7 separate regions of the Homo sapiens genome follow, and all the other regions are linked to region 5. Evidence: promoter capture Hi-C in 16 types of primary human blood cells and fetal thymus (Javierre and others, 2016). All regions are on one chromosome and are shown on one strand. The core of a region is centred on a gene start or on the middle of the fragment in contact, and the rest is flanking DNA. Distances in the headings are between cores, read along the strand shown. Region 1 overlaps RAD51D (RAD51 paralog D). Region 2 holds the start of RFFL (ring finger and FYVE like domain containing E3 ubiquitin protein ligase). Region 3 overlaps FNDC8 (fibronectin type III domain containing 8). Region 4 holds the start of SLC35G3 (solute carrier family 35 member G3). Region 5 holds the start of SLFN12L (schlafen family member 12 like). Region 6 overlaps RFFL (ring finger and FYVE like domain containing E3 ubiquitin protein ligase). Region 7 overlaps UNC45B (unc-45 myosin chaperone B).

Evidence for each region. Contacts are between HindIII fragments. The CHiCAGO score rates a contact against its expected background, and 5 or more counts as called.
Region 1: a fragment that was not itself captured here is called in contact with the fragment with the promoter of SLFN12L in region 5 in 3 of 17 cell types (activated CD4 T cells, naive CD4 T cells and total CD4 T cells); the score reaches 6.2 in activated CD4 T cells.
Region 2: a fragment that was not itself captured here is called in contact with the fragment with the promoter of SLFN12L in region 5 in 5 of 17 cell types (activated CD4 T cells, non-activated CD4 T cells, naive CD4 T cells and 2 more); the score reaches 11.0 in activated CD4 T cells.
Region 3: a contact is called between a fragment that was not itself captured here and the fragment with the promoter of SLFN12L in region 5, in 2 of 17 cell types (naive CD4 T cells and fetal thymus). The highest score is 8.0, in naive CD4 T cells.
Region 4: a contact is called between a fragment that was not itself captured here and the fragment with the promoter of SLFN12L in region 5, in 12 of 17 cell types (non-activated CD4 T cells, total CD8 T cells, naive CD4 T cells and 9 more). The highest score is 17.0, in non-activated CD4 T cells.
Region 6: a fragment that was not itself captured here is called in contact with the fragment with the promoter of SLFN12L in region 5 in 4 of 17 cell types (non-activated CD4 T cells, activated CD4 T cells, total CD4 T cells and 1 more); the score reaches 6.6 in non-activated CD4 T cells.
Region 7: a fragment that was not itself captured here is called in contact with the fragment with the promoter of SLFN12L in region 5 in 16 of 17 cell types (naive CD8 T cells, M0 macrophages, M2 macrophages and 13 more); the score reaches 72.9 in naive CD8 T cells.

Annotation. Positions count from the first base shown.
Region 1 is chr17:35,103,587-35,106,175 of GRCh38, forward strand. All of the region lies in intron 6 of RAD51D (RAD51 paralog D), which reads right to left. The region is part of intron 2 of RAD51L3-RFFL (RAD51L3-RFFL readthrough); the gene reads right to left. Among named protein-coding and RNA genes, the nearest start is that of RAD51D, 15 kb to the right of the region's middle. The HindIII fragment of the contact is 2,462 bases long and covers 20-2,481 here.
Region 2 is chr17:35,060,373-35,063,855 of GRCh38, forward strand. RFFL (ring finger and FYVE like domain containing E3 ubiquitin protein ligase) reads right to left here and starts at 3,335. Exons shown (of 7, transcript NM_001017368.2): 1 at 3,204-3,335. All of the region lies in intron 5 of RAD51L3-RFFL (RAD51L3-RFFL readthrough), which reads right to left. RefSeq lists enhancers at 2,886-3,483, 3,172-3,483, 3,417-3,483 and a silencer at 3,107-3,176. The HindIII fragment of the contact is 1,520 bases long and covers 765-2,284 here.
Region 3 is chr17:35,125,289-35,128,698 of GRCh38, forward strand. It overlaps FNDC8 (fibronectin type III domain containing 8), which reads left to right. Exons shown (of 4, transcript NM_017559.4): 2 at 1,754-2,129. Among named protein-coding and RNA genes, the nearest start is that of FNDC8, 5.4 kb to the left of the region's middle. The HindIII fragment of the contact is 1,166 bases long and covers 1,207-2,372 here.
Region 4 is chr17:35,194,306-35,197,638 of GRCh38, forward strand. It overlaps SLC35G3 (solute carrier family 35 member G3), which reads right to left and starts at 88. Exons shown (of 1, transcript NM_152462.2): 1 at 1-88. The coding sequence starts at 2. The HindIII fragment of the contact is 550 bases long and covers 1,809-2,358 here.
Region 5 is chr17:35,535,662-35,538,970 of GRCh38, forward strand. SLFN12L (schlafen family member 12 like) reads right to left here and starts at 2,017. Exons shown (of 5, transcript NM_001363830.2): 1 at 1,912-2,017. RefSeq lists an enhancer at 1,345-1,424. The HindIII fragment of the contact is 3,143 bases long and covers 1-2,315 here.
Region 6 is chr17:35,038,109-35,041,169 of GRCh38, forward strand. All of the region lies in intron 1 of RFFL (ring finger and FYVE like domain containing E3 ubiquitin protein ligase), which reads right to left. The region is part of intron 5 of RAD51L3-RFFL (RAD51L3-RFFL readthrough); the gene reads right to left. Among named protein-coding and RNA genes, the nearest start is that of RFFL, 24 kb to the right of the region's middle. The HindIII fragment of the contact is 4,406 bases long and covers 1-3,061 here.
Region 7 is chr17:35,178,586-35,181,783 of GRCh38, forward strand. It overlaps UNC45B (unc-45 myosin chaperone B), which reads left to right. Exons shown (of 20, transcript NM_001267052.2): 18 at 1,974-2,091. Among named protein-coding and RNA genes, the nearest start is that of SLC35G3, 14 kb to the right of the region's middle. The HindIII fragment of the contact is 8,641 bases long and covers 1-3,198 here.

The sequences.
Region 1 (2,589 bases), core at 1-2,500, 430 kb before region 5:
TAGGACACATTACAGGACAAGCTTGCTTTTCTATCTAAAACTAGTAAGAAATAGCCCCCCCATCCCAAATACAGCAAGCTGCACGGGCATCACAGAATGTCATCAGCAGCAATGTCTCCCTCGTCCCATTGGCATGTGTAACAGACTTCAATGAAGACTTGGGTAGAAAGAAAGGGTTTAAATCACAGGACATCAAAACTACACTAAAGTGGCTGGGCGCAGTGGCTCACGCCTGTAATCCCAGCACTTTGGGAGGCCAAGGCGGTGGATCACTTGAGGTCAGGAGTTCGAGACCAGCCTGGCCAACATGGTGAAACCCCGTCTCCACTAAACATACAAAAATTAGCTGGGCGTGGTGGTGCACACCTGTAATCCCAGCTACTCAGGAGGCTGAGGCAGGAGAATCGCTTGAAACTGGGAGGCGGGGGTTGCAGTGAACTGAGATCACACCGCTGCATTCCAGCCTGGGCGACAGAGCAAGACTCTGTCTCAAAAAAAATAAAATAAAATAACTAAAAACTACATTAAAGTCATCAAATTTCAGAAAGCTCCGCAGAGAGTCCTGAGGCCTCTGGTCATGGATCTCTCAGCAGCCATCTCTCTCCTGTGTCCAGCCTCCCACCATGGTGGTAAGGCCCTTCTTTTCCTTTTCTGACTCCCTCCTTTCTTTCCCTTGTCCTGCTAACTACCACCCTCAAATTCCTAACTTCCTTTGCTGAAGAGTTTAGCCTTCTCTTTACTTCACTGTCTCCTTCTAGATCATGCCTCTAGGCCTCATCTTCCGTATCTAAAATGCCTCCAAATAAATTCCCTAAGTCTTGCTCTGTCACCCAGGCTGGAGTGCAGTGGCATGATCTCAGCTAACTGCAACCTCTGCCTCCTCGGTTCAAACGATTCTCATGCCTCAGCTTCCTAAGTAGCTGTGACTATGGGTGCACACATTGGGTGCACACTACGGGTGCTAATTTTTGTATTTTTAGCAGAGACGGGGTTTTACCGTGTTGGCCAGGCTGGTCTCGAAATCCGGCCTCAAGTGATCTGGCCACTTTGGCCTCCCAAAATGCCAGGATTACAGGCATGAGCCACCAAGCCTAGCCTGTGCCATCTTTCTAACCATAATTTTCTGTCTTTACACAAGCAGGAGAATCCTCCTGGTTTCCCTGGACTTAAACTGTTTTTGATGCTTCTTTTCTCTTCTCCCTTACTTCTTATATCCTGATTCTGGTTCTTTTTCTTTTCTTCTTTCTTTTTCTTTTTTTTTTTTTTAAGACAGGGTCTTGCTATGCTGCCCAGGCTGGTCCTGAACTCCTGGGCTCAAGTGATCCTCCTGCCTTGGCCTTCCAAAGCATTGGGATTTTAGGCGTGAGCCACCGCTCCTAGTCTCAGATTCTTAACCCCTAGAAACTGTGAGATAAGAAATACTATGTCTTAAGCCACTAAGGTTTTGGTAACTTATTATGCAATAATAGAAGATATATCATCTAATGGTCCTACAGTAAAAAATACAGTCTTCTGATCTGGAATTGAGAGGTTTGGGCTATAAGGTTAGTTCTTGCCCTAAATATTTGGTCAACTTTGGTCAACTCACTTCACTTCTCCGGCCTTCACTCTTCTCATCTCTAAAAGTGAGGTAAGCACTACTCAGCTTCATGTCTCAACAAGCTGGTGGGTCATAACCAGCTATGACTTCTGAGGTAAGTATTTGTTCAACATTTTTTTTTAAAGACGGGGTCTAGCTCTGCTGACCAGGCTAAGGTACAGTGGTATGATCATAGCTCACTGCAACCTCCAACTGCTAGGCTCAAGCAATCCTCCCGTCTCAGCCTCTGGAGTCATTAGGATTACAGGTGTGGGCCACCACTCCCAGCTTGTTCAACTATTATATGTTCTAAAGTTTGTAAAAATCATTGACTTTATATATAGTCGTGGGGATGCCCGTGTGAACACGTCATGCTTTGGGGTGAGAGGAAAAGTTTGAGATAAACTATTCTATCTTTAAGGTATCCTCCACATCTAGTCATTTATAAATCAGTGCACCAAATCCTGTCTAAGCACCCAACATGAGTAGCAAAGTGCCAACCCAAATGCCATTCTAAATCCTTCCCATTAACATGACTCTGAATGTGTTCAGCGACTGGGCAGAAATCTGACTTCAGGGATGGTGGGCCCAGGTCTTAGTCCAAGATACACACATAACCCCATTTTGGCCAACTAGATGTAAGGGGAAGAGGGACGTCTATTAGTGGGCTCTGGAGAAAGATTCTTCATCCCTGATAAAAGGGAGGAGGTACAGAAAAGAACCATCTATCTTTTACTGCCTTGAATATGGATGTGGATGTGTGAAGACAAGATGCTTGGAGCTTTGGCAGCCTCTTTGCAACCATGAGGGGAAGAACAAGAAAATCAGACACACAAATCTATTGCCCTGATAGCATGGACCTGCCAACCTCCCAACTCATGTGACATAATTAAATGTCCTCAAGCTTCAAGTCTCTGTCAGACAACCTCTATTACTTGCAGCTAAAAGTATTCCTCACTCACCTAGTGGGGAATGCAGACATAAATATGACATGATCCTTCCACTCAGGG
Region 2 (3,483 bases), core at 275-2,774, 480 kb before region 5:
GTGGAACCTGATAGAGTATATTTAACTACTATATTAAGAGACAAACCAGCTGCTTAATGCAGTGTAAGAACCATGTTTTCTCTCTGAGTCTTACCTAAATGTATATATGCTTTGGTATCAGACTAGCTTTATAATCACTGGTAAAATAGGGATAATAAATAAAGCCTACCCAACGCAAATAAAACCATATGAGGGAAATAATTTTGTAAAACACCATAAAAATGTCGTGATATTGCGGGACTAGATCTCAGCAAACCCTTTAAATCTTCAAATTAACTTTGAATGATTACTTGATGGTGGCAGGTAACACATACAAAATAAGCAGCCATGGGCTCATGTTCATCAAATAGGAATGAAAAACCATGCCATCTAACAAAAAAGCTTCTAATATTGCAAAGAATAACGGTTTGAGCCCGGAGATCCACGTCAGCCACTCTCTCTGATGGTGCCAAGCTCTAGTCCAGGGACACCAAGTTCAGTCAAAGAACTCAACAGTCTAGTGGAAGAGACAGACAGTGCTGTCTGTCAGAAAAGACAGAGAAGTCAGAGAAGATGCATATATGAACTAAGTGTCCTGAGGGATGAGTATCTTGCCAGTTAGAGAAGGGAGAGTCCATTGGGAAAAGGCAGAGTCCTAAAAGACATGGTATATCCATGGAATGTTAACATGAGAAGTTCAGTGAAGCTGGAGAGGAGAGAAATGGCCAGGGGAGAGGGAGATGAGATGGTTAACAGCAACATGTAGGAAAGAATCCAACTGTGAAAGCTTTTAGAAGTCAAGCTAAGTGGAAAACAGGGAACAAATGGCACCTTAAATGAAAAGATTAGATGTGGACTTTAAAAAGATAACTTGGGCAACAATATGGAGAAGATAGGAGCAAGGAAAGACTTATGGAGGAGTGGCCATTTGATAAGGGTCTGAACTAGGAGTTACAAACTCAAATTCCTAGAGGCAATGCAGGTAAAATGCTAAGTCTTCAGTGTGTAAGATGTCAGAAAATGGTGGTATCCGTAATCTTTGAAGAGTACAGGCCTTCTCTCTGATGGTGCCTAAAAGTATTCACACACAAAATTTTAAGCCCTTAGGCTGACTGATTGATTTTTGGGATGGAGTCTTCTTCTGTGCCTAGGCTGGAGTTCAGTGGCACAATCTCAGCTCATTGAAACCTCCACCTCCTGGGTGCAAGCAATTCTCTTTTCTCAGCCTGCTGGGTAGCTGGTACCACAGGCACTGGCCACCATGCGTGGCGTGCCTTTTTTTTTTTTTTTAAATACAGACAGGGTTTCACCATGTTGGCCAGGATGGTCTCAAACTCTTTTTTTTTTTTGATATGGAGTCTCACTGTTGCTCAGGCTGGAGTGCAGTGGTGTGATCCTCGCTCACTGCAACCTCCACCTCCTGGGTTCAAGTGATTCTCCTGCTTCAGCATCCTGAGTAACTGGGATTATAGGCACGTGCCACCACGCCCAGCTAATTTTTTGTTTTTAGTAGAGATGGGGTTTCACCATGTTAGCCAGGCTGGTCTCAAACTCCTGACCTCAGGTGATCTGCCCACCTCGGCCTCCCAAAGTGCTGGGATTACAGGCGTGAGCCACCGTGCCCAGCCTGACTTTAAACGTCCAGTTTTGACCTCTGGTAAATTAAGGCAATGACAGTGGGAATGAAGAAAAGCCACACATCAAACAGTACTCCAACAAAATCAACAGGGTTTAGCACATTTAAAGATGTGAGCATAAAAAGAATGAACAAGGCCGGGCGCGGTGGCTCACACCTGTAAACCCAGCACTTTGGGAGGCCAAGGCAGGTGGACCATGAGGTCAAGAGATCGAGACCATCCTCGCCAACATGGTGAAACACTGTCTCTACTAAAAATACAAAAATTAGCTGGGCGTGGTGGCACGTACCTGTAGTCCCAGCAACTCAGGAGGCTAAGGCAGGAGAATCGCTTGAACCAGGAAGGCAGAGGTTGCAGTGAGCTAAGATCACACCACTGCACTGCAGCCTGGGTGACAGAGCAAGATTCCTCTCAGAAGAAAAAAAAAAGAGTTGATGAGAGGATCAGAGTTGAGAAAGTACAGTACAGGCTCTTGCTCATTCTACCCTTACTGAGAACCTACTATGTGCAACGTACCATGGATACAATTCTAGCAAAGCAGACCCTGATTCTCAATACATACTATGATTGGAGTAAATACCAGGTTCTCCTGAGTACTCAACCCTGGTAAGTAAGAAGAGGCTTCATGGAAGAGGTGACTTCTAGGCTGAAACCAGTTGGCCAGATTAAGCTTGGGGAAGGTGTGTAAAAGAACGCTTACATATGCTAAGGTCTGAGGTGAAAGAGAACGTGGGCAATTTGTTGGAATTATAAGGAGCAGAAACGTAATTTGGAGGGTGACGACTACCTAGAGATATCATAGTCTGATTAGGTGAAGGACTCAAAAGTTTGGCGATGAAAAGCAGGAGGGAGATAGAGTAGTAGCCTAGTAGAATTAGAGATGAGGGAGGTTCTTCCTATTAATTCAGAAAGGAATATGGGAACAAACTCACTGATAAGACAGTGTTCTCCACAACTCAATATTTAGTTATTAGGAAGGCAACCAAATGCCTTCACTTCTTTTCCTTTAACAATGGCTTAGTTTGACTAAAGTGTTTCTCACAAGATACACACAAAAAAACAAAATACAAGAGCAAATGACGGATAAAGCTGTAAACCTAACGTTTTACTTTTCTAAGATTTATATAATCAGTGATTTAATTGGACCTAACTCCACATCCAGAACTCAAATGAAAGAAAACTTCTGGCCGGGGGCCGTGGCTCATGCCTATAATTCCAGCACTTTGGGAGGCTGAGGAGGGTGGATCACCTGAGCTTGGGAGTTCGAAACCAGACTGACCAACACAGCAAAACCCTGTCTCTACTAAAAATACAAAATTAGCCGGGCATGGTGGCGCACATCTATAATCCCAGCTACTTGGGAGGCTGAGGCAGGAGAATCACTTGAACCCGGGAGGTGAAGGTTGCAGTGAGCCGAGATCACACCATTGCACTCCAGCTTGGGCAACAAGAGTGAAACTCCGTCTCAAAAAAAAAAAAAAAAAAAAAAAAAAAAAAAACCTGACTCACTTCTGAAGACAGGATTTTCCCAGTTTCTAATGCAGCTTCATCTAGCTAATGAAACTTAAGAAAACAGTTTGAGGTTACCTGATTTTGCCAGTTTCAAAACATTGCCACGACAGAAAGCAAGCTGTCTCTAGTTCCTGTGGCTGAGGTCGCTGGAGCCATGTTCAGATGAGATCATCTCAGGAACCAAGAGCAGCGGCTTTCATGTGAAGTGAATGGTGCCGCCTGGGGATGTATCTTTGGTAAGCAAGATTGCAACACAGCAGGGAGTTTACCCAGGGCAGTGCTGACTCACGCTGGGCAAAATTTGTACTTCCCAAACAACTCAGCCTGAACCAACCGCAGTCAACTGCAACCTAGG
Region 3 (3,410 bases), core at 540-3,039, 410 kb before region 5:
ATTAGCTAGACATGGTGATGTGCACCTGTAGTCCCAGCTACTCAGGAGGTGGAGGTGGACGGATGGCTTGAGCCTGGGAGTTTGTGCCACTGCACTCCAGCCTGGGCAGCAGAGGGAGACCCTGTCTCAAAAAACAAAAACAAAAACAAATATCCATGTAATGGAAAATCATAAAACAGTAAAAACGACTGAACCAGAGCTACATGTATCAAGATAGATGAATGTCAACACAAAGTTGAGTGAAAAAAGCATGTTGCAGATGGGTATGTGCTGAATAATATCTTTTATTTGTACAACATCTACAAACGTGAAAAATAATAGATCTTGCCTAGGGATAACATAAATATGTAAGAAACCTATAAAGACACACATTGAGTAATAAATACACAATTTAAACTTTACTGTACTCATTACTTGTCGGTCGAAGGATGGGGACTTTGGTGGGAGACAGAAGTGTCTGGGGGGCTTTACCCATAGTGATAAGATTTTATTTCTAAAGGTAGATGAGGAGTAAATGGAGGTTTAATATAATATTCTTGATATTTTTGTATAAGTCTAAAATACTTCATAATTTTAAAAAATTCAGAGTGGAAGAAATAAGTTTTTGAGCATCCACACCAACATATGTATATTTGTTTTATTTTATTTTTGAGACAGGGTCTCACTCTGTTGCCCAGGCTGGAGTGCAGTGGCAGGATCTCGGCTCACTGCAACCTCCACCTACCAGGCTCAAGCGATCCTCCCACCTCAGCCTTCCAAGTAGCTGGAATTACAGGCAACCGCCACCATGCCCAGCTAATTTTTTGTATTTTTAGTAGAGTCAAGGTTTCGCTATGTTGGCCAGGCTGGTCTTGAACTCCTGACGTCAGGTAATACACCCACCTTGGCCTCCCAAAGTGCTGAGATTACAGGTGTGAGCCACCGCGCCTGGCCCATATATGTATTTGTATTTCTGTTAATTTTACGTGCTAGATATTAATAGGTATTATTAAATGCCACTAAAATGTAAGTAAATATTAGTAATTCCATTAAAATTTAAACAATAGTAAATAAACATTAGTGAAATTGAATGTATTACTTCCATACCCCAGTAGATCTTTGTGGTTATTCCCTGGGGCATTTGCACCCCACTTTGGAGGGAGGACTTGCCATTTTAGCATGTTTTTTAAATTGTGGTTTGCAGAACACTTGCATCAGGATTTTCTAAGCTTTTTTTTTTTTTTTTTTTTTTTGAGATAGAGTTTCACTCTGTCACCCAGGCTGGAGTGCAGTGGTGTGATCTCGGCTCACTGCAACTTCTGCCCCCTGGGTTCAAGCAATTCTCCTGCCTCAGCCTACCAAGTAGCTAGGATTACAGGTGCCAACCACCGCACTCAGCCAATTTTTGTGTTTTTAGTGGAGACAGGGTTTCACCATGTTGGCCAGGCTGGTCTGTAACTCCTGACCTTGAATCTGCCTGCCTCGGCCTCCCAAAGTGCTGGGATTATAGGCGTGAGCCACTGCGCCCAGCCAGGATCTTATTAAAGATGCGGATTCTCTAGTCCCATGCTAACTGGGGACCAGGGACTAAAAGTCTGCATTTTTAGTAAGTGCCCTGGTGAGTCTAATGCAATGCTATAGAGCAATGAGGCTGTTCCAAGCTGTTTGCAAATGGCTGGGGATGCTGGTAAGTCAGGCCCAAGGCCTGCCCTCAGGTGGAACGGGCTGGGGTGGCCTCCTTCATCTGATTCACCTGTCTCCCCTTTTGCTCCAGGAAGCCGCTGCCAGTAGAGGATTCAGACTGCAGCTCTGATGAGACCAGCATCTCTGCCTTCTCATCCACCTTGCTGAACCCCATCAAATTAGCTGTGACCCAGCCCAACAGCAGCTTCTTTGCAGGGATGCTGGAGGGGGAGCTGAACAAACTCAGCTTCTCCCCAATGGCCAAGAATGCAGAAAATGAGGACCTGGCGCTCGGCCCCTGCCCATGCCCATCGAAGTCCCAGATGGCCACAAGGGGCCTGCTGGACCTTGACAACCCTGAGCTGGAGACAGAAACCTCCTCAACGCACTCAGAATCTTCTGTGGTTGTGGACCTGCCGGACACCCCCTTCATCTTTGAGCACACCGTCAACAATTCCACAGCTGTGGTGCGTTTCCCTTGCTCATGCGTTCAGCAGAGGCTTATTGTGCCAGGCACTGAGCTGAGCTCCATGGGTAGTGAGAAGGTGCCTGCCACCTGCATGTCGACCTCAAGTTCACGGTTTAGGAAGGGAGAGGATGTGTCTGTAAAAACTCCAGTGCAAGACAGAAAGGGTTCAGTGCTGTAGGAAAAGTTCAGAGCAAGTGCCACCAGGAATTCAGAGGGAAAGATATTTCCAGATGCGGGAATAAGCTTGGTGGCTTTTGGTAACATCTGAGCTGGGATGTAGAGGTAGCATGTAAACATCTAGAGGTGGAGGAGGGAGGCATTCCCTGGAGGGGCGGACCCTAGCAAAAGCTCACAGGAAAGTGAGGGAGGAAATCTCAATTTGAACAAGATGGTAGGTGATCTGTAGGAACATGAAAGCGTGAGAAGCCCTGGATGAGGACCTGGGATCGAGTGAGGCTACTCAGAATTGCTGGGCCTCCTCCCTAGAGGGTCTAGGGTGAAGCCTGATAATTTGCATTAGTAACAGATTCCCAGAGGATGCTGTGGCTCCCCGTCCGCGGGCTACACGTCGAACAACACCGTCCTACACTATGGGAAGTGAAGACAGGGGACAGGATGGGGAATGTTAGTCTGGGATCATCTTCCAGAGTCCTCCAGTGTTAGACTACTTTATAGACTTTTCTGTAAGTAATAGGGAACAGCTTTGTAAAAAGCTTCACATCAGATGATGAAAGCAATTCGAGCTGTATCTTGGGAGGATGCCTGGAATTCCACTGTTGGATGGCCCAGAGCAGTGTTTCTCAAAGTGCTCTCCAGATGGACAATGTCAGCATCACTCAGCAAATTGTTACAAATTTAAATTCTCATCTCCCTCCACCACATTTGGGCCTCCTGAGTCAGAAACTGTTGGGGCGGAGCCCAGTAATCTATCTTTTAATAAGTCCTCCAGGGTATTCTAATGCACACCAAGTTTGACAAACACTGGCCTAGATGGAGGAGAAACCAGACAGGAGGCAGCAGGCCCAGAAATCTGCAGTTACAAAATCTCCCTGAGATGCTTAGCCAGGCTTGGCAACCATTGTAGTACAAAGTGTATGGGCTCTGGAGCTATGGGTTTGAACACTGGCTGTCACTTAATTGCCGTATGATGATGGACCAGTCACTTGCCCTCTCTGGACCTAGTCGATAAGATGATCTCTAAGGTCCCTCTCAGCTAACAGAGTCTAGACAGAGTCTAGAACCAACCTTTTTGGCACCAGGGACTGGTTTCATGGAAGAT
Region 4 (3,333 bases), core at 834-3,333, 340 kb before region 5:
ATCTTTCCTTGGACTTTCTCCTCTCCTCCTGGCTCAGGGAGCCTGGGCCCCTCAGAGCTCCAGCCATTGTGACCTCATTGGAGTGGGGGTGGGATTCTTCCCTGGAACTCTCCTGAGGTGGTAGCACGCCTATTTTCCCACTGAGTCCAACTCTGCTTCTTTTCTTTCTTTTTTTGTTTTTTGTTTTTTTTTATTGATCATTCTTGGGTGTTTCTCGCAGAGGGGGATTTGGCAGGGTCATAGGACAATAGTGGAGGGAAGGTCAGCAGATAAACAAGTGAACAAAGGTCTCTGGTTTTCCTAGGCAGAGGACCCTGCGGCCTTCTGCAGTGTTTGTGTCCCTGGGTACTTGAGATTAGGGAGTGGTGATGACTCTTAACGAGCATGCTGCCTTCAAGCATCTGTTTAACAAAGCACATCTTGCACCGCCCTTAATCCATTTAACCCTGAGTGGACACAGCACATGCCCCAGAGAGCACAGGGCTGGGGGCAAGGTCACAGATCAACAGCATCCCAAGGCAGAAGAACCCTTCCCAGTACAGAACAAAATGAAGTCTCCCATGTCTACTTCTTTCTACACAGACACAGCAACAATCTGATTTCTCTATCTTTTCCCCACCTTTCCCCCTTTTCTATTCCACAAAACCACCACCGTCATCATGGCCCGTTCTCAATGAGCTGTTGGGTACACCTCCCAGACGGGGTGGTGGCCGGGCAGAGGGGCTCCTCACTTCCCAGAAGGGGCGGCCGGGCAGCGGTGCCCCCCACCTCCCGGACGGGGCAGCGGCCGGGCGGGGGCTGACCCCCCACCTCCCTCCCAGACGGGGCAGCTTGCCCGGCGGGGGCTGCCCCCCACCTCCCTCCTGGACGGGGCGGCTGCCGGGCAGAGAAGCTCCTCACTTCCCAGACGGGGCGGCTGCCGGGTGGAGGGGCTCCTCACTTCTCAGACGGGGCGGCTGCCGGGCGGAGGGGCTCCTCACTTCTCAGATGGGGCAGCTGCGGGGCGGAGGGGCTCCTCACTTCTCAGATGGGGCGGCCGGGCAGAGACGCTCCTCACCTCCCAGATGGGGTCGCGGCCAGGCAGAGGCGCTCCCCACATCTCAGACGATGGGCCCCCGGGCAGAGACGCTCCTCACTTCCTAGACGGGATGGCGGCCGGGAAGAGGCGCTCCTCACTTCCTAGATGGGATGGCGGCCGGGAAGAGGCGCTCCTCACTTCCCAGACTGGGCAGCCGGGCAGAGGGGCTCCTCACATCCCAGACAATGGGCGGCCAGGCGGAGACGCTCCTCACTTCCCAGGCGGGGTGGCGGCTGGGCAGAGGCTGCAATCTCGGCACTTTGGGAGGCCAAGGCAGGCGGCTGGGAGGTGGAGGTTGTAGCTAGCCGAGATCACGCCACTGCTCTCCAGCCTGGGCAACATTGAGCACTGAGTGAATGAGACTCCGTCTGCAATCCCGGCACCTCGGGAGGCCGAGGTTGGCAGATCACTCGTGGTTAGGAGCTGGAGACCAGCCTGGCCAACACAGCGAAACCCCGTCTCCACCAAAAAAATACGAAAACCAGTCAGGCGTGGCGGTGCGCACCTGCAATCGCAGGCTGAGGCAGGAGAATCAGGCAGGGAGGTTGCAGTGAGCCGAGATGGCAGCAGTACAGTCCAGCTTCGGCTCCGCATCAGAGGGAGACCGTGGAAAGACAGGGAAACGGAGACCGTGGGGAGAGGGAGAGGGAGAGGGAGAGCTCAGGTATCTTATACATTGTTTTCTTTCCTTCTCTTCTTTTGATCTTACCCACTTTTTTTTACAACTTAAAGCTTTTTTTTTTTTTTTTTTTTTTGAGACAGGGTCTCGCTCTCTCACCCAGGCTCAAGTGCAGTGACACAAACATGGCTCAAGCCCAGCTAATTTTTTTTTTTTTTTTGTAGAGACAGTGTTTTATTATGTTGCCCAGGCTAGTCTTGAACTCCTGGGCTCAGGCAATCTGCCCACCTTGGCCTTCGAAAGTGCTGGGATTACAGGTGTGAGTGACCAGACTGGTCCCAAAACTTTTTTAATGTTTAAATTTTACCACTATACTAAGGAGGAGTTACCCATCTTTTAATTGCCTTTTTTTCTTCTTATTAGGGAGGGGTAAGGAAGAAGACTTGGTCAGCAGAAAGCAGGTCTTAATTGCTTTTTTGTTTTGTTTTGTTGCTATTGAGTTGTTTGAGCTCTTTATATGTGTTGGATATTAACCCCTTATCAGATGTCTGGCTTGCAAATATTTTCTCCCATTCCATAGGTTATCTCTTTACTCTGTTGATTGTTTGCTGTGCAGAAGGTTTTTAGTTTGTTTGTTTTAGCTACACATCATGAACCAAGAAGCTTTTTACTTTGATATGATACCATTTGTCTATATTTAATTTTGTTGTCTGTGCTTTTGGGAACAAATCCAAAAAATCATTACCCAGACCAATGTCTTGTATGTTTCCCCTATGTTTTCTTTCTTTTTTTTTTTTTTTTTTAAAGGAGGCTGTCAGCTGATCCCCTATGTTTTCTTCTAGCAGTTTTAGGTTCTTGGTCTTAAAGGTCTCTTTTTTTTCTTTCTTTCCTTTTTTTTTTTTTTTTTTTTTTTTTGTTGGCAATTTTCCTGAGCAAACTAATGCAGGAATGTTTAAGTATGTAATCCATTTTGAACTAACTTTTGTATATGGTGTTGAAATAAGGGTCCAATTTTCTTTTTCTGCATGTGGAAATTCAGTTTTCCCTACACCATTTATTGAAAAAAGCGGTCTTTTTCTTCTTGGCATATTTGTTGAAAATCAGATTCATCTCTGGGCTTTCTATTCTGTTCCATTGGTTGATGTGTCTTTTTCTTTTTTGCCAATTCCATGCTGTTTTACACTTACTTGATCTTAGCCAAAAGGCAGAGAAGCGATTATTTCATACTATTTTAATTAGTATAGCTTTGTAGTATAGTTTAAAATCAGATAGTGTGATACCTCCAGTTTTTTCAACTTCAGAGAGCTCTGAAGCAAATATCTCCAGCTTTTTTTCTTTTTGCTCACGATTGCCTTGGCTTTTTTTTTTTTTTTTTTTTTGCAGTTTTGTATGAATTTTAATGTTTTTTGTTTTTTTTTGAGGCATGGTTTCATTCTCTTTCCCAGGCTGGAATGAATGTCACAATCATGGCTCACTGCAGCCTCAAACTCCTGAGCCCAAACAAGCAATCCTCCTACCTCAGCTCCTGGAGTAGCTGGTACCTCAGGCATGCATTGACAAACCTGGTAAAAAAATTTTTTTTTTTTTGGTAGAGGTGAACTCCTCGGCTCAAGCAGTTCTTCCACCTTGGCCTCCC
Region 5 (3,309 bases), core at 767-3,266:
GTTTTTGTTTTTGAGATGGATTCTTGCTCTGCCGCCAAGGCTCGAAGGCAGTGGCAGGATCTCAGCTAACCGCACCCTCCACCTCCTGGGTTCAAGTGATCTTTCCACCTCAGCCTCCTGAGTAGCTGGAATGACAGGCACGCACCACCACTCCCAGGTAATTTTTGTATTTTTAGTAGAGACAGGGTTTTACCATGTTGGCCAGGCTGGTCTTGAACTCCTGACCTCAAATGATCCACCTTCCTCGGCCTCCCAAAGTGCTGGGATTACAGGCGTGAGCCACCACACCCGGCCCTGGCTAGTTTGTTTGTTTGTTTGTTTGTTTGTTTGTTTGTTTTGTAGAGATGGGGTCTTGCTATGTTATCCAGGCTGTTCTCAAACTTCTGGGCTCAAGCGATCTTCCCACCTTGGTCTCCCAAAGTGCTGGGATTACAGGCATGAGCAACCACATCCGGCCAAAAATCTAGACTCTTAATCATTGTGCAAACTGGTCTCCCAAATTATTAGGCCTCTTGGAAGACAAGAGAGTTTTCATTACTCTGGTAAGAATAACCATTCTGGAATAATCTCCCTGGTATTTGTGATAGCATTTATTTTATAAAACACATTTGATAACAAGAAAAACATAGGTCTATTTCTGTTAAACACAGGCAAGCAAAAGTCACATGTAAAAACACAGCTAGACAGAACATCTAGGGCCTTCACAAGTATCTGCTTTAATTAATGTTGGTAAACAAAAAGACCCAATGCAGTGACACATTTGCAAACATTATATCTAAATCCAACTAGATCACAGTTTCCCAGTCAATATAGCTTAAGTTTCTCTGAAAACAAAATAGTTTATATATTACGAAAAACAAAAAAACACAGTTGGGCTCAGTGGCTCATGCATGTAATCCCAGCACTTTGGGAGGCTAAGGTGGGCAGATTGCTTGAGCCCAGGAGTTTGAGACCAGTCTGAGCAAGGAAATCCAGTCTCTACAAAATATAAAAAAATTAGCTGGGTGTGGTGGTGCATGGTCTATAGTCCCAGCTCCTCGAGAGTCTGAGACGGGAGGATCACTTGAGCCTAGGGAGGTTGAGACTGCAGTGAGCCACGATTGCATCACTGCACTCCAGCCTGGGTGACAGAGTGAGAGCCTGTCTCAAAAAAAAAAAAATAAGAAAAATAAGAAACCCCTTTTCATAGTGATGAAGCAATCAGCTAACTGCTAAAGAATCTTCACAGGCGAGGCTGGGTACGGTGGCTAATGTCTATAATCCCAGCACATTGGGAGGCCAAGGTGGGACGATTACTTGAGGTCAGGAGTTTGAAACCAGCCTGGTCAATCTAGCAAGACTTCCTCTCTACAGAAACGAAAAAAATTAGCCAGGCACCCTCACGCTCAGTGCCTGTAGTCCCCGCACTTTCAAAGGCTGAAGCAGGAGGATCCTTTGAGCCCTGGAAGGTCGAAGCTGCAGTGAGTTGTGATCGCACCACTGCACGACAGCCTGGGCGAAAGAGTGAGAACCTGTCTCAAAAAAAAAAGAGAATCTTCACAGGCATCCCTTCCTCCCAAGTCTCCTCACTTGTCTTATCTGAAGGTTTGTTCCCCAGAACTATGAGAACCCTCTACATCTCTTTCTCTCAGCCCAGCCAGGTTCCTCTGGGCTTGAGTCCTACATCCCTGGCCTCAGCTACAAGGTGAGTACAGTCTAAGGACCAGCTCCTCTCATTGTCTATTTCACTTATTTATTAAAAGTGTAGACCTAAAGTGTCTACTTCATCCTCTCTTGCCTAAAGTGGGTATATCTGGAAAAGTCTGTAGCCACAGAGGAGATTTTCATCTTAGAGTTATGAGGTCTCTTTGAGAGACTCTCCATTCCATTGAATAAGCATGGCTTAGATCTCTCTGGACAATCTGTACTTACCTTGGGAGTTAAAAGATTCCACAGGGTTGAGATGCTGAAAAGATGAGAAAGTTCCAGGAGCTCTGATCTACTTAGGAGTCCCTGCAGTTTGGCTGAGGACAGTGGTAATCCTCAAAGGCTAGAAATGGCTTTCAAATCTGAGCGCTCTGCAGAACAAGTCCAGGAAAAATGCTGCTTTGGTATTTCTGAGAATGAAACTAGAAGGTTGCCGCCTTTTTAAAGTTTCCATTTCTCAGAATTCTCCTACTCATTTTAGGCCTGCCATTCTAGCCTCAAGGGGGGAATATGTGCTATTTCCTGTTTATCAATAGACTAAGTGGGCCAAAGACTAGTTCTGGCTAAAGACTAAAGAAACTTTATCAGAAGAAATGCTTCAAACACTTTGGAGAATAATGCTACAAAAAAGCTTTTTTGGATACACACCAAACTGTTATTAAGGATTACTTTCTCAGAAGTAGAACTGGAGAGGAAGAAGATGGAAAGGGAGGAGAGAATTGTTACTTTGTACAGTAGGCCTGAGTTACTCAACAAATATTTTTTATTGGCAAGGAAAAGGGAAAAAACAAAACAAAAAGAAACAGTGAAAGAGCCAGAAAGGAAATTAAACAGTGCATCTCACTGACTTTCTCATTCAATTTTTATAGTAGCCTCCATAATCCTAATAGTTGTTGTAATTAGAGCCGAGATGGATTCACTGCTATTAATTTAGCTGCTAATACTGTTGCTATTGTTCTGATCAAGTTTCTGCTACTTTTTGACCTGCTGTCTCCCTCAACAGCTGTAGGAGTCACAATTCCCTTGAGCTCTTGTTGGTTTCTTGTTCCATTTTTTTTGGGTTTCTATCCTTATACATTGAAAAAATTATTACAGTGTGGATTTAGCAATCATTTTTAGCTATAAGAAAAGGTGCTGTGCACTAGAGGGAATTGAATTAGAGATGTCATTCGTTAATCAGATAATTAGTTCCCAATCTTGGCTGCTTGTTCAAATCTTTTGGCATGCTTTTTAAAAATTCAGATGCTAAGGTCCTTCCCCAGACATTCTGAATTATACTGTCAAGTAGTGGTGCAATATCAGGAGGTAGAGACATATCACATATACACAACACACACATATAGGCATAAACATAAAGACAGACACAAATAGATCTTATAATTTTCATTTAAAATCTTAGCCATGATTAGGTATACATAAACACAAAATTTAATAATTTTGATAAAAATTGATTCTCATCTTTGCCTATTAATATTTTCTTTCGATCTCATCTTTCCATAGACATTTGTTTAGGATGACAGCTTTCTTTTAAAAAAAAATCCTTTTAGATATAAAAGTTCAAATCTTCAAAGGTATACCTGTCTTAATTGTGACTCAAAACCAGTAAGTTTTTATGGCTTAAAA
Region 6 (3,061 bases), core at 551-3,050, 500 kb before region 5:
GAAACCCCGTCTCTACTAAAAATACAAAAAATTAGCCAGGCGTGGTGGCACATGCCTATAATCCCAGCTACTCAGGAGGCTGAGGCAGAAGAATCGCTTGAACCTGGGAGGCAGAGGTTGCAGTGAACCCAGATCGCACCATTGCATTCCTGCCTGGATGACAGAGCAAAACTGTCTCAAAAAAAAAAAAAAAAAAAAGGAAAAAAGAGCAACTGGAACTCTAATATTGCTGGTGGAAGTGTAAATTACTCCAATTTGGAAATTTTGTGTGTGTGTGCGCGCGCGTGCATATACACGCGCACCCACATCTCTTTCCATGGCTTTGCAATTCTGCTTCCAGGCATATACCCAACAGAAATACATTCACCCAAACAGTATACAGGAATATCCATGGAAGCCCTACTGTAATAGCCTCAAGCTGGAAACAACTGAAGTGTCCATCAACGGTAGAATTATGATATGTTCACAGAACAATGAGAAAAAACAAACAACTGATACATGCAATAGTACAGATGAATCTTATGTTGAGCAAAAGCAGGAGGCATAAATGAATACATGGGAAATGATTCGTTTTACATAAAATTCAAAAACAGGCAAACTATGGTGTTCAAAATCAGGATAGTGGTCATCCTGTGAGGTAGGATTACAGATGGAAGGCAGCCCAAGGGGCTTCTGGTAACATTGTTTCTTACTCTGAATGCTGATTATGTAGATATGTTGACTTTGTAAAAATTCATCGAACTGTACACTTATAATTTATATACTTCTCTAGTTACATTTGAATTAAAAGTTTATATGAGTGTTGTGTTTTGTTTTGAGATAGGGTGTCTCACTCTGTTGCTCAGGCTGGAGTGCAGTGTTGCGACCATGGCTCACTGTAACCTGGACCTCCCAGGCTTACGTGATCCTCCTGCCACAGCATGCCGAGTAGCTGGGACTACAGGCGCGCACCACCACACCTAATTTTTTGTATTTTTTTGTCTAGATGGGGTTTCATCAAGTTGCCCAGGCTGATCTCGAACTCCTGGGCTCAAGCAATCCACCCGCCTCAGCCTCCCAAAGTGCTGGGATTACAGACATGGGCCCCTGCACCCAGCCCATATGACAGATTTTTTTCTTTTCTTTTTTTTGAGACGCAGTCTCGCTCTGTCGCCAGGCTGGAGTGCAGTGGCGCAACCTCGGCTCACTGCAACCTCCGCCTGCTGGGTTCAAGCGATTCTCACGCCTCAGCCTCCCGAGTAGCTGGGATTACAGGCACGTGCCATCACACCCAGCTAATTTTTGTATTTTTAGTAGAGACGGCGTTTCACCATGTTGGGCAGGATGGTCTTGATCTCCTAACGTCATGATCCGCCCACCTCGGCCTCCCAAAGTGCTGGGCTTATAGGCATGAGCCACAACGCCCAGCCAATGACAGATTTTTTAAAGCACCTAGTCAAATATTTGTAATTTGTAAAAAATAACAAAAAAATAAAAAATAAAACCCCATTTTGACCCCACATTCTCCCCCTCCCCAGTAAAGCTCTTTTTCTGTGATCTCCTCTAAATCAAATTTCTCCAAATATTTGACTCCACTTTTTTTTTTTGAAACGGAATTTCACTCTTGTTGCCCAGGCTGGAGTGCAATGGCACGATCTCAGTTCACTGCAACCTCTGCCTCCCGGGTTCAAGCAATTCTCCTGCCTCAGCCTCCCGAGTATCTGGGATTACAGGCATACAACTCCATGCCCAGCTAATTTTGTATTTTTAGTAGAGACGGCTTCTCCATGTCGGTCAGACTGGTCTCAAACACCCAACCACAGGTGATCTGCCCACCTCGGCCTCCCAAAGTGCTGGGATTACAGGCATGAGCCACCGCATCTGGCCGACTCCACTTTCTTAACCTCTAATTCACTCTTAAACCTTCTCCAATCTAGCTTGAGCCAACCACCATTCCTAATCTCTTCAAGGTCACCAAGGAATTCCAAGTGGCCAGATCTAATTGACACTTCTCTATCCTCATCTTAATCTCTCAGCAATGCTGGACACAAGCGACTCTCCCCCTCTAAACATCTCTTAGCTTCTAGCACTCTGCCCCCGTGGCTTTCCTCCTACCTCAAAGCCTTTTTGCTGCTTCTTACCCCTCCCTCTGTTCTTAAATGTTGTGAGTGTCCAGGCTGTCTTAGGCCTCCCTCTCCAACCACACCTCAGGTTGCTTTAAATACCTTTCTTGGCCGGGTGTGGTGGCTCACACCTGTAATCCCAGCACTTTGGGAGGCCAAGGCGGGCAGATCACTTGAGGTCGGGAGTTCAAGACCAGCCTGGCCAACATGGTGAAACCCCGTCTCTACTAAAAATATAAAAAATTAGCCAGGCATGGTGGCAGGCACCTATAGTCCCAGCCACTTGGGAGGCTGAGGTAGGAGAATCACTTGAACCTGGAAGGCAGAGGTTGCAGTGAGCTGAGATCATGCCACTGCACTCCAACCTGGGCGACAGAGCGAGACTCTCTCTCAAAAAAAAAAAAAGTAAAAAAAAAATAAAAAATACTTTTCTTAAATCAAAGATGCATAAATTCCTACCTTCATCTCCCCTGCTCCTGCTGGTGGGTTAAAACATCATCTTTCATATATTAATCACATTTCCCTCCTTAGGCCCTTTAGATTTGTTGTTTGTTCCTTCTGCCTGGATTGGTCTCCCTAGAACTTCCTATGCTTAGCTCCTTCTTGTCATCCAAACATCAGCTTTAATGTCTTTTTTTTTTTTTTTTTTTTTTTGGTGTGTGTGTGTGTGTGTGTGTGTGTGTGAGGGAGAGAGAGATAGGGTCTCTCTCCAAGCTGGAGTGCAGTGGCTTGATCATAGCTCACTGTAATCTCGAACTCCTGGGCTCTAAGGATCCTCCTGCGTCAGGCTCCCAAAGCTCTGGGATTACAGGTGTGAGCTACCACGACCAGCCTTTTAATGTCATTTTCTAATTTCACCATAACATTTGGTATTAGCTGATATTATTTGCTTATTTATTAACTGCTTTCCCTAACTAGAATAGAAACCCCATGAGGGCAGGGACTTTGTGCTCTACCGA
Region 7 (3,198 bases), core at 180-2,679, 360 kb before region 5:
TGGTGTTTTAGTCATGAAGTCTTTGCCCATGCCTATGTCCTGAATGGTATTGCCTAGGTTTTCTTCTAGGGTTTTTATGGTTTTAGATCTTACATTTAAGTCTTTAATCCATCTTGAGTTAATTTTTGTATAAGGTGTAAGGAAGGGATCCAGTTTCAGCTTTCTACATATGGCTAGCTAGTTTTCCCAGCACTATTTATTAAATAGGGAATCCTTTCATCATTTCTTGTTTTTGTCAGGTTTGTCAAAGATCAGATGGTTGTAGATGTGTGGTGTTATTTCTGAGGCCTCTGTTCTGTTCCATTGGTCTATATATCTGTTTTGGTACCAGTACCATGCTGTTTTGGTTACTGTAGCCTTGTAGTATAGTTTGAAGTCAGGTAGCGTGATACCTGACCCTGATGATGCCTCCAGCTTTGTTCTTTTTGCTTAGGGTTGTCTTGGCTATGCCTGCTCTTTCTTGGTTCCATATGAACTTTAAAGTAGTTTTTTCCAATTCTGTGAAGAAAGTCATTGGTAGCTTCATGGGAATGGCATTGAATCCATAAACTATCTTGGGCAGTATGGCCATTTTCATGATATTGATTCTTCCAATCCATGAGCATGGAATGTTCTTCCATTTGTTTGTGTCCTCTTTTATTTTGTTGAGCAGTGGTTTGTAGTTCTCCTTGAAGAGGTCCTTCACATCCCTTGTAAATTGGATTCCTAGGTATTTTATTCTGTTGGTAGCAGTTGTGAATGGGAGTTCACTCATGATTTGGCTCTCAAGGATCTAGAACTAGAAATAACATTTGACCCAGCAATCCCATTGCTGGGTATATACCCAAAGGACTATAAATCATGCTACTATAAAGACACATGCACACGTATGTTTATTGTGGCACTATTCACAATAGCAAAGACTTGGAACCAACCCAAATGTCCATCAATGATAGATTGGATTAAGAAAATGTGACACATATGCACCATGGAATACTATGCAGCCATAAAAAAGGATGAGTTCATGTCCTTTGCAGGGACATAGATGAAACTGGAAACCATCATTCTGAGCAAACTACCACAAGGACAGAAAACCAAACACCGCATGTTCTCACTCGTAGGTGGGAGTTGAACAATGAGAACACATGGACACAGGGCGGGGAACATCACACACCGGGGCCTGTTGGGGGTGGGGAGCTGGGGGAGGGATAACATTAGGAGAAATACCCTAATGTAAATGACGAGTTGATGGGCGCAGCAAGCCAACATGGCACGCACATGTATACCTATGTAACAAACCTGCACGTTGTGCACATGTACCCTAGAACTTAAAGTATTAAAAAAAAAAAGATATCCAGGTGGATAGTGGGATAAAATGTATTCCTCTTTGGAAGCAGGAGTATGTCAGCATGTACTGGGTTGGGATTCTTTTGGTTGCCAGTAGCAGAAAACTTAACTATAATAGGCCTAAGCATAAAGGAAATTTATTGGCTCATGTAGATAAAAAGTCTGGGGTAACAAGATTCAGGTGTGGCTTGATGCAGGGCTTACAAAGCTGCCTTAGGTTCCTGTTCTCTCTGTCTCTCCTCTCCTTTCTGTATTGCTTTAATTCTCAATGGGCTTTTCTGCTCTCTCATGGTTATAAGGGCAGTTCTGGCCTTCACATCTTCTTGGATCTACATCCAGGATGAGAGAGAGAGAGAGAGAGAGAGAGAGAGAGAGAGAATTTCTTTACTGCAATAATACAGAGGCTCTCCAGTTGGGTGATATCCAGAACCCACTGCTGTGGCCAGGATGCCATGCTATACAATTTAGTTGAGGCCCATGGTGCCCCTCCTAGAGCTGGGGGCAGTGTGATGCCACATAAACCATGCTGGCTGAGGATGTGGGAAGGACAGCACCAGAATGGAAGAATGGTCCCTGGGTGGCCAGAAAACCCCTATGGTCACGGCAGAAGACTCAAGGGTCTTTCTTCCTCCACCCTCCTACCCTAGGCAGAAGATCTTTAAGGAGAGGGCCTTGCCAGACATCGAGAACTACATGTTTGAGAATCATGATCAGCTGCGGCAGGCGGCCACCGAGTGCATGTGCAACATGGTGCTCCACAAGGAGGTGAGGCAGGGGCTCAGGATGGAGACCCGGGCGTGATCAAGGCACGAGAGGCAGGCCAGGGTCAGGGCCTGGGGTGAGATCGGGAGCTCTTATGATGGCATTAAGGTAGCATTTTGGGCAGAAAATCCAGGAATCCCTAAATATTTCCTAGATTATAGCCCCCCTCCCTGTAGGGGCCCTGAGAGAAAGATATGCATAAAGGAAAAAATACAAAGCTGGGGCTTTCAATCCAGACCCTGGGCTAGATGAGGTGGAAGGCACCATTTCCCTAAGTTACTTAGGCCCAAATAACCTTAAAACAAAGCAGGATATGAGACCAGGGCCTCTCAGAGGTCAAGGAAGGCTAGACCACTTGCATTTATTGAAGCTCCACATATATAAAAAAAATGAAGAAATGCCAAATACAGTTATCAGCCATTTTAGGATGTCTCAAATGTCAGCATTTAATGAACTACCACTGTTCCCATAGAAATTGCAATGCAATATAACTGTACTCAGCACAGAATAATTACAGGGTTTATAAAAATAAAATGAATTCAGAACATGCCGTAGGCTTCATGGTCCAGTCATGGGACAAATGATACCCATCTGGTGAATGTCTTCTTCTCCCCATCCTGTCAGAGTACTGCTGTGACTGTATGTGTAATCTTATCAGAGATAACAGCAGGGTCTAAGTTTGAGGCCCTTCATTAACATGAGGGCCAAGCCGAATGTCCCTCCTGGGCCCTCACATAGGGGCTAGCGTGAGACCCAGTCTGTTTACCCTCAACACCTGAACCTTAGACCTTCTCACTGTTATAGGGGAAAACCTAACCCATTAAAGCCGATTAAAGGCCAGGTATGGTGGCTCATGTCTGCAATCCCAACATTTTGGGAGGCTGAGGTGGATGCGTCACTTGAAGTCAGGAATTCGAGACCAGCCTGGCCAACATGGCAAAACCCTGTCTCTACTAAAAGTACAAACATTAGCCAGGCATGGTGGTGGGTGCTTGTAATCCCAGCTACTCGGGAGCCTGAGACATGAGAATCACTTGAACTTGGGAGGCAGAGGTTACAGTGAGCCGAGATCATGCCACTGCACTCCAGCCTGGGTGACAAAGCAAGACT